Regions from separate parts of the Homo sapiens genome. Here region 1 is linked to region 2. The links are contacts of gene promoters, found by promoter capture Hi-C in blood cells and fetal thymus (Javierre and others, 2016). All regions are on one chromosome and are shown on one strand. Each heading gives the region's core, a stretch centred on a gene start or on the middle of the fragment in contact. The rest is flanking DNA. Distances are from core to core; before and after follow the strand shown.

The links. The method cuts DNA at HindIII sites, captures the fragments that hold promoters and counts their contacts. A CHiCAGO score of 5 or more calls a contact.
Region 1: a fragment that was not itself captured here is called in contact with the fragment with the promoter of DNMT3L in region 2 in 3 of 17 cell types (M2 macrophages, M0 macrophages and endothelial precursors); the score reaches 7.5 in M2 macrophages.

Annotation. Positions count from the first base shown.
Region 1 is chr21:44,150,639-44,154,102 of GRCh38, reverse strand. No RefSeq gene overlaps it. Among named protein-coding and RNA genes, the nearest start is that of LINC01678, 7.5 kb to the left of the region's middle. The HindIII fragment of the contact is 1,519 bases long and covers 1,307-2,825 here.
Region 2 is chr21:44,259,476-44,263,277 of GRCh38, reverse strand. It overlaps DNMT3L (DNA methyltransferase 3 like), which reads left to right and starts at 1,381. Exons shown (of 12, transcript NM_175867.3): 1 at 1,381-1,538; 2 at 2,012-2,124; 3 at 2,439-2,483; 4 at 3,567-3,646; 5 at 3,729-3,802. The coding sequence starts at 2,019. RefSeq lists an enhancer at 1,107-1,666. The HindIII fragment of the contact is 9,625 bases long and covers 1-3,802 here.

The DNA of each region.
Region 1 (3,464 bases), core at 817-3,316, 110 kb after region 2:
TCAAGTCAGAACGAGCACATGACGCGGCAATTCCACTTCCAGGCGTGGGCCCAGCAGAACCGAAAGTGAGTCTCAGAGAGACACCTGGCGCCCATGTTCACGCCAGCATTATTCATACCAGCTAAAACATGGAAGCAGCCCGAGCGTCCATCGCCAGAGGAATGAACACACAAAATGTGGCCCACGCACACGATGGAATATTTTTCAGCCATAAGAAGGAAACTCTGACACACGCTGCAACACAGATGGGCCCCGAGAACATGACGCTAAGTGAAATTGAGAGATTTTGTTAGTGGCTTGAAACCATCATTGTATTTGCTCACAATCCCGTGAGTCAGCCGTTTGGTTTGGGCCGGTCTCCTGGCCTGGTCTACCCAGGCTGCCCCCACCCCTGAAGCCACTTGGTGGTTAGTGCCGGCCAATGACCCCATGGTGCACACCTGGTCGACTTCCCAGGTTCCAGTTCCTCCCCTCTAGGACAGCCGCTGGGCCTCAGGGTCGGGGTGACTGAGGCTGACGGAGATGGCAGTCTCTTCCACGGCTGTGCCCAGGGAGGCTGCCAGGCACCCATCTACGCAGCAGCACAGTCTAAAGCCAGCCAGCCCCTCCCTCGGCCCCCACCCACGCCTTTCTCACCACGGCTGGAGGCCCCAGGAAAGCAACACAGACACGGGGGTAGGGAGCACTTCCAGACCCAGCAGGAGCCTGGAAGGCTTCCGCAGCCACACCTCTTCCACAGCCACACCCCTTCCCCAGCCACATCCCATTCCTGCAGGGAAACGCTCGCAGCAGCTGGGGTGAGTCCTGGAACTGTCTCCCCTGCTGGGTGCCTGTCCAGGCACCAAGTCCTGCTTGTGTTTTAGAGCAGGCTAAAAGCGGTATCATGCCCAATCTACACCTAGGCATTTGGTATTGAAACTGCAGAAAGTTAAAGAAACAATCTTGAAAGAAGCCAGCAGCGGGTGGGGAGGAACACCTAAACTACAGACAAAGAATACATTCATTTCTTATAGAATTAGTTTTGACTTTACAGAAACTGTGCAAGTAAAAATACAGTGGACTGAAATATTTAAAGTGTTGAGAAAAAATCCACAAGCCTAGAATTCTGTATCCAGCGAAATTATCCTTCAAAAGTCAAGGAAAAATAGACTTAGACAAAAATTGAGAATTTGTTACTAGTAGACCTGCTTTGCAAAAGGTGTTAAAAGTTCTTTAGAGAGGAAAAAAAATGTACAAGTCAGAAACTTGGATTTACATAAAGAAAGGCACGAGTGATCGAGAAGGAATAAGAAAGGTAATAAAAGCTTTTATTTTTCTTACTCTTTTTTTTTTTGAGACAGGGTCTTGTTCTGGAGTGCAATGGTGTAATCACTGCAATCTTGATCACCTGGGCTCAGGCGATCTTCCCACCTCAGCCTCCCAAGTAGCTGGGACCACAGGTGCACACTACCATGCCCAGCTCGTTTTTTAATTTTTGGAGAGATGGGCTCTCACTATGTTGCTCAAGCTGGTCTTGAACTCCTGGCCTCAAACGATCCTCCCACCTCAGTCTCCCAAAGTGTTGGGATTATAGGTATGAGCCACAATGCCTGGCCATTAATCTTAATGGAACAGACAAAAGTTTGTTAAAGTTATAACAATGTACTTGATTATATATGCTTATGTATAAGTGAAACTAATAATAGCAGTGATACAGGGGACAGGAGTGAAGAATTGGGAACATACTGTTATTAAAAGATACTTTTGGTGGGGCACAGAGGTTCACGCCTATAATCCCAGCATTTTGGGAGGCCAAGGCAGGTGGATTGCTTGAGCCAGGAGTTTGAGGCCAGCCTGGGCAACGTGGCAAAACCCCGTCTCTATAAAAAATACAAAAATTAGCTAGGTGCTGTGGCATGCGCCTGTGGTCCCAGCAACTCAGGAGGCTGAGCCAAGAGTTCCAGGATGCAGTGAGCCGTGATCACACCACTGCACTCCAGCCTGGGCGACTGAGCAAGACCCTGTCTCAAAAAACAACAAAACAAAAAATACTTGGGCTACCGATTAGCAAGCAGTTCAGTGTTATTTGAAAGTGGGCTTGAAATAGTTGGAAATGTGTATCACAAAATCTAGGGTAACCACTGAAAATGTGAAAAAGTATAATTGATGTCTAAGAAAGAATAGAAAATAAAATCATAAAATGGTCAATTAAAACCACAAAAGGCAGAAAAAATAAAAAACAAAAACAAAAAATAGAAAATAGGAACAAACATGGTAGATATTAATCCAACTATATCAACAGTGACTTTGAATGTCAGTGGTATAAATGCACCAATTAAAAGACAGAGATTGTCAAAACGGATCAAAAAATAAGACCTAACTATATGTTATCTACACAAAACCCACTTTAAAAATAAAAACAATGGCTGGGCGCAGTGGCTCACGCCTGTAACCCCAGCACTTTGGATGGCAGAGGCGGGCGGATCACTTGAGGTCAGGAGTTCGTGACCAGCCTGGCCAACACGGCAAAACCCCATCTCTACTAAAAATACAAAAATTAGCCAGGCGTGGTGGCTTGTGCCTGTAGACCAGCTACTCAGGTGGCTGAGGCAGGAGAATCACTTGAACCCGGGAGGCGGAGGTTGCAGTGAGCCATGATCTCATCACTGTAGAGATGGGTGGCAGAGCAAGACTCTGTCTCTAAATAAATAAATAAATAAATAAATAAATAGACACATGTAGATTAAAAGTAAATGAACAGAGGAAGAAATACCATACTCACATTAATCACAAGAAAGCTGGAATAGCTATATTAATTTCAGAGCACACTTCAGAGCAAAGAAGCTTATCAGGAATAAAAGGAGTTATGCATAATAAGGGGTGTGGAATATCTTTCCATTTTACCTCTTTGACTTATTAAAGTTTTATAATTTTCCTCACAGATCTTGTAAATATCTTGTTAGATTTCTACCTAAGTTGTGTGTTTCAGAGTTGCTATGTCTTCCTGGAGAGTGTGGCCTTCCCAGGGAGCTGCTGTTGGCCTCTCGGGTCATTTCTTGGTGGTTTTGCTGTCCTCACCCACGAGCCATGCTGGACACCATGTGACAGGAGTCCACTAAGTGTGGGCCCCGTGAATATTCTCGTTTTACTTCTTTATGGAGCTGCTGCTGAATCAGGGCCTGGGCTGGACCCAGGGAGCAGCGGGGTCCCGGAGAGATGGGGCTGCCTGGGCCGGCAAAGCCACCTCTAGGGACCCTGGCTAGCGTCCCACCTGGGCTCCTGAAGTGTGAGATTGTGAGGGCGGCCTCTGCTGTGGGTGACAGTGCTGCCTGAGGCTGTGGTGGCAATTGGCGTGGTGCACTCTGTAGCATGGGTTGTCCAGGGAGGTGTTTGTGACAGGCTTCCCAGGGTCACGGGTGCTTGGGAGAAGCAGGAACAGGGCAGGGTCATACCAGGTGGACCAGGACAACCAGGGCTGGGTGTCC
Region 2 (3,802 bases), core at 132-2,631:
CTTCTCCCACTTTCGACCAGCACAATTGTCCTGTGGCTCCAGCCCTGCCCGGCGGTCCTCCGCCCCCTGCTCTGAAGCCCCTAACCTCCCTCCAACAAAGTCCCCCTTCCCAACCCACCCCGCACCTCCCACACTGCCCCTCTGCCCACCCCACCTTCCTGCTCCCTTCCCTGCTTCCACGTTCCACCCCCACCCTGAACCTACCCCTCCCAGCTCCCCAACCCCCCACCTGCCCTGACATTCCCCACCCAACACCCCTTACCCCATCCTCCAGGGCCTTCCCTGTTTCCTTCTCTCCCCCACAGCTGCCCCCCAAACCTGGGGCTCCAGACTGAGCTCCCAAGCCCGGCTCCTGAACGCCCCTCCCTCTATCCCGCCAGAGGACCACCTCCCCTGAACACCCCCATCTCCTCCTCACCATCTACCCCCACCCCCACTCCCATCCCAACCGACCCTGAGATCCCTGAGGCCCATCCCCACCCCATTCTCACCCCTATCCTGCCCTAAAGGCCACCTCCCCTGAAACCCCCATCCTCGGCCTCACACCCCCATTCCTACTTTCACCCCGTCTCTACCCTTGCCCTGAGCCCCGACCCCCGCCACTGAGCCCTGCCCCGGAGTGCCCACCCTCACCCTATCATCACCCCCATCCCGCCAAAGGACCACCTCCCCTGAAGGCCCCCATCTCCAACTCAGCATCCACCCCCACCCCCACTCCCTAATCCCCCAACAGATCTCCCTAAGCCCCGCCCTCCACCCACCCACCCTGCCCTGAGGGCCACCTCCACTAATCCTCACCCATCTCCACCCAGGGGGCCAACTCCACCTAACCCCCCGCCCTGCCCTACCTCCACCCTCCACCCTCCACCCTCCACCCCTCCACCCCTCCACCCTCCACCCTCATCCCTTTCTTCACCCTTGCCCTGAAGCCCACCCCTATGACCTTCCTAAACCCCACCTCTGAGCGCCCTGCCCCTACCCCACAGCCACCCCTATCCCCCACCCCACCCCAAGGGCCCCCCTCTACTGAAACCCCCCTCATCTGCCCCATCCCCAGTCCTCCCATCTCCACCCCTCCCCTGAACCCCACTCCCCACTGAGGTCCCCAAACCCCACCCCTCACTCCACCCTGAGGGCCCCATCCTCTGAACCCCAATCCCCCAGCCCCACTGAGCTCTTAACCCTCCCCACCTGAGGGTTCCCTTTCCCTGCCCGTCCCCCAGCTTCCTAGCTCCCCACCCCAAGTGACCCCCCGCAGCTCCTCGCCCCTCCCACTGCAAACCGGCACTGAAGGGCTGCCCCGCCCCCGCCCCTCCCCGCCCCCGCGGGACACGCCCAGATTCTTTGCCCCCATAGCCTGGTGACCTCTGGCCACCCGCTGTCCCAGGTGGGCCTGGATCCTTCCAGCTCATTCTTTGCCTGCGCCGTCCCTCGTTCCATGGCCCAGTCCTCCCCGGGGACCCTGAGCCTGGAAGCCCCGGACCACTGGAACCTTGAACCCACCAGCTGGCTGTACCCGGAGCCGTGGCAGCAGCCCTGTGAGTCTCTTTCCTACTCCCTGACCATGCTGCCTTCAAGGGTGCGGCTGGCCAAGACCATCCCCAGGGGTCCCTGCTGGGCCTGAGGGACACTGTAGGAGGCTGGGGCATGGGAGTCCCTGAGGGGTCGAAGGCTGGGCCCAGAGGAAAGCAGGGGCTGCAGCGGCCATTGGCCCCAGGTCCTCATGAGGGCCCTGCCCTCCCCTTTTTGCCCCATCTTCCATGTTGTAACAGGGCCAGGCAGGTGGGGGGCACGCCTCAGGGGACCCTTGAGCCCCTCTCAGGGCTGGCACTGGCCTTGGCTGTCCTGCCCCTCATCCCTGGGTTGGGCAGGTGGGTGTCACCGCGGGGGTTCAGGTGGCCTGAACTAGTCAAGGTCTGCTCAGCAAGCTGCTTCCCGTGCTGGGGTGCATCAGGGATCTGAGCAGGGGCTGACGGCTTTCTCACATCTGTGTCCGTGTGTCCTGACACAGCATCCCCATGGCGGCCATCCCAGCCCTGGACCCAGAGGCCGAGCCCAGCATGGACGTGATTTTGGTGGGATCCAGTGAGCTCTCAAGCTCCGTTTCACCCGGGACAGGCAGAGGTGAGGGCTCATCTGCTTATTGGACCAGTCACTTAGGATGCTGATCCCAGGCCTGGATGAGGTCTGGAGTTCCAGGCTTCTGGAGTATTCATGCATTATTCAGGCACCCGGGCTGGGGCAGGAGGTTCCCCACCCACAGTCTTCCCCCAGGTATGGGCGTTTAACACACCAAGATAAGGTGTGAGGGCGGGATGGCAGGGGACCTCAGGCTCCTGTGACTTTGGAAAACGAATTGTGATGCTCACTTCCTGGCCGAATTTAAATTAAGAGATCAGAGGAAGAAGAAAGGGGCTACTTCTTATCTTCCTTTCCAGATCTTATTGCATATGAAGTCAAGGCTAACCAGCGAAATATAGAAGGTGAGTGTTTGCATACTGGCCCACACCAGACAAAAGAGACGGGGCACAGTGGCTCACACCTATAATCCCAGCACTTTGGGAGACCAATGTGGGAGGATCATTTGAGCCCAGGAGTTTGAGACCAGCCTAGGCAACATAGTGAGACTCTGTCTCTACAAAAAAATAAAAATAAAAATTAACCAGGCATGGTGGCATGCACCTGTAGTCCCAGCTACTCAGGAGGCTGAGTTGGGAGGATTGCTTGAGCTGGGGAGGTCGAGGCTGCAGTGAGCTATGATAACACCACTGCACTCCAGCCTGGGTGACGGTGAGATCCTGGAAGGAGGCAGTGGACACCACTGTGCCACGTGTATCCCTTCTCCCCCTCCCAAGGCCCCTGTAGCTTCATTTAAAGCATATAGTTTAATGTATTTTAGTTTATTTACAGAGTCAGCAACCATCATCACCATCTAATTTTAGAAGGTTTTCATCACCCTGAAAAGAAAACCCATGTCTAGTAACAGTCACTCCAAATTCCCCCTTCTTGCTTCCCTTCTTTTAACTCTAGGCAACCACTCCTCGACTTTCTCTCAACGTGGGTTTGCCTTTTCTGGATCCTTTGCATTTCCGTATGAATTTAGGATCAGCCTGTCAACTCCTGCCCAAAAGCCAGCTGGGATTTTGAGAGGGCTCTGCAGCTCCATTTGGGGACTCATGCTATTTTAACAATATTAAGTCTTCTTCTTTTTTTTTTTTTTTTTTTTTTTGAGACACACTCTCACTCTGTCCCCCAGGCTGGAGTGCAGAGGCATGATCTTGGCTCATAGCAACCTCTGTCTACCAGGTTCAAGTGATTCTCCTGCTCAGCCTCCTAAAGTGCTGGAATTACAGGCATGAGCCACCACACCCAGCCAATGTTAAATCTTCTGATCCATGAACATGGGATATCTTTCCATTTTGTTCCATCTTCCTTAACATCTTCCAACAATACTTTGCAGTTTTCAGTGTATAAGTCTCATATTTGTTTGGCTAAATTTATTCCTAATCGTCTGCTGTATTTGACAGCACTGGGAAAACACAGTGTGCTTTGAATGTTTCCTTTAGACATCTGCATCTGCTGCGGAAGTCTCCAGGTTCACACACAGCACCCTCTGTTTGAGGGAGGGATCTGCGCCCCATGTAAGGTAGGCAGGGAGGCTGGGGGTGACTCCCTCATGGCCTCAGAGCAGGGATGACACAAGCCAGCCTTGCTTTGCTCCTTCCAAGGACAAGTTCCTGGATGCCCTCTTCCTGTACGACGATGACGGGTACCAATCCTACTGCTCCATCTGCTGCTCCGG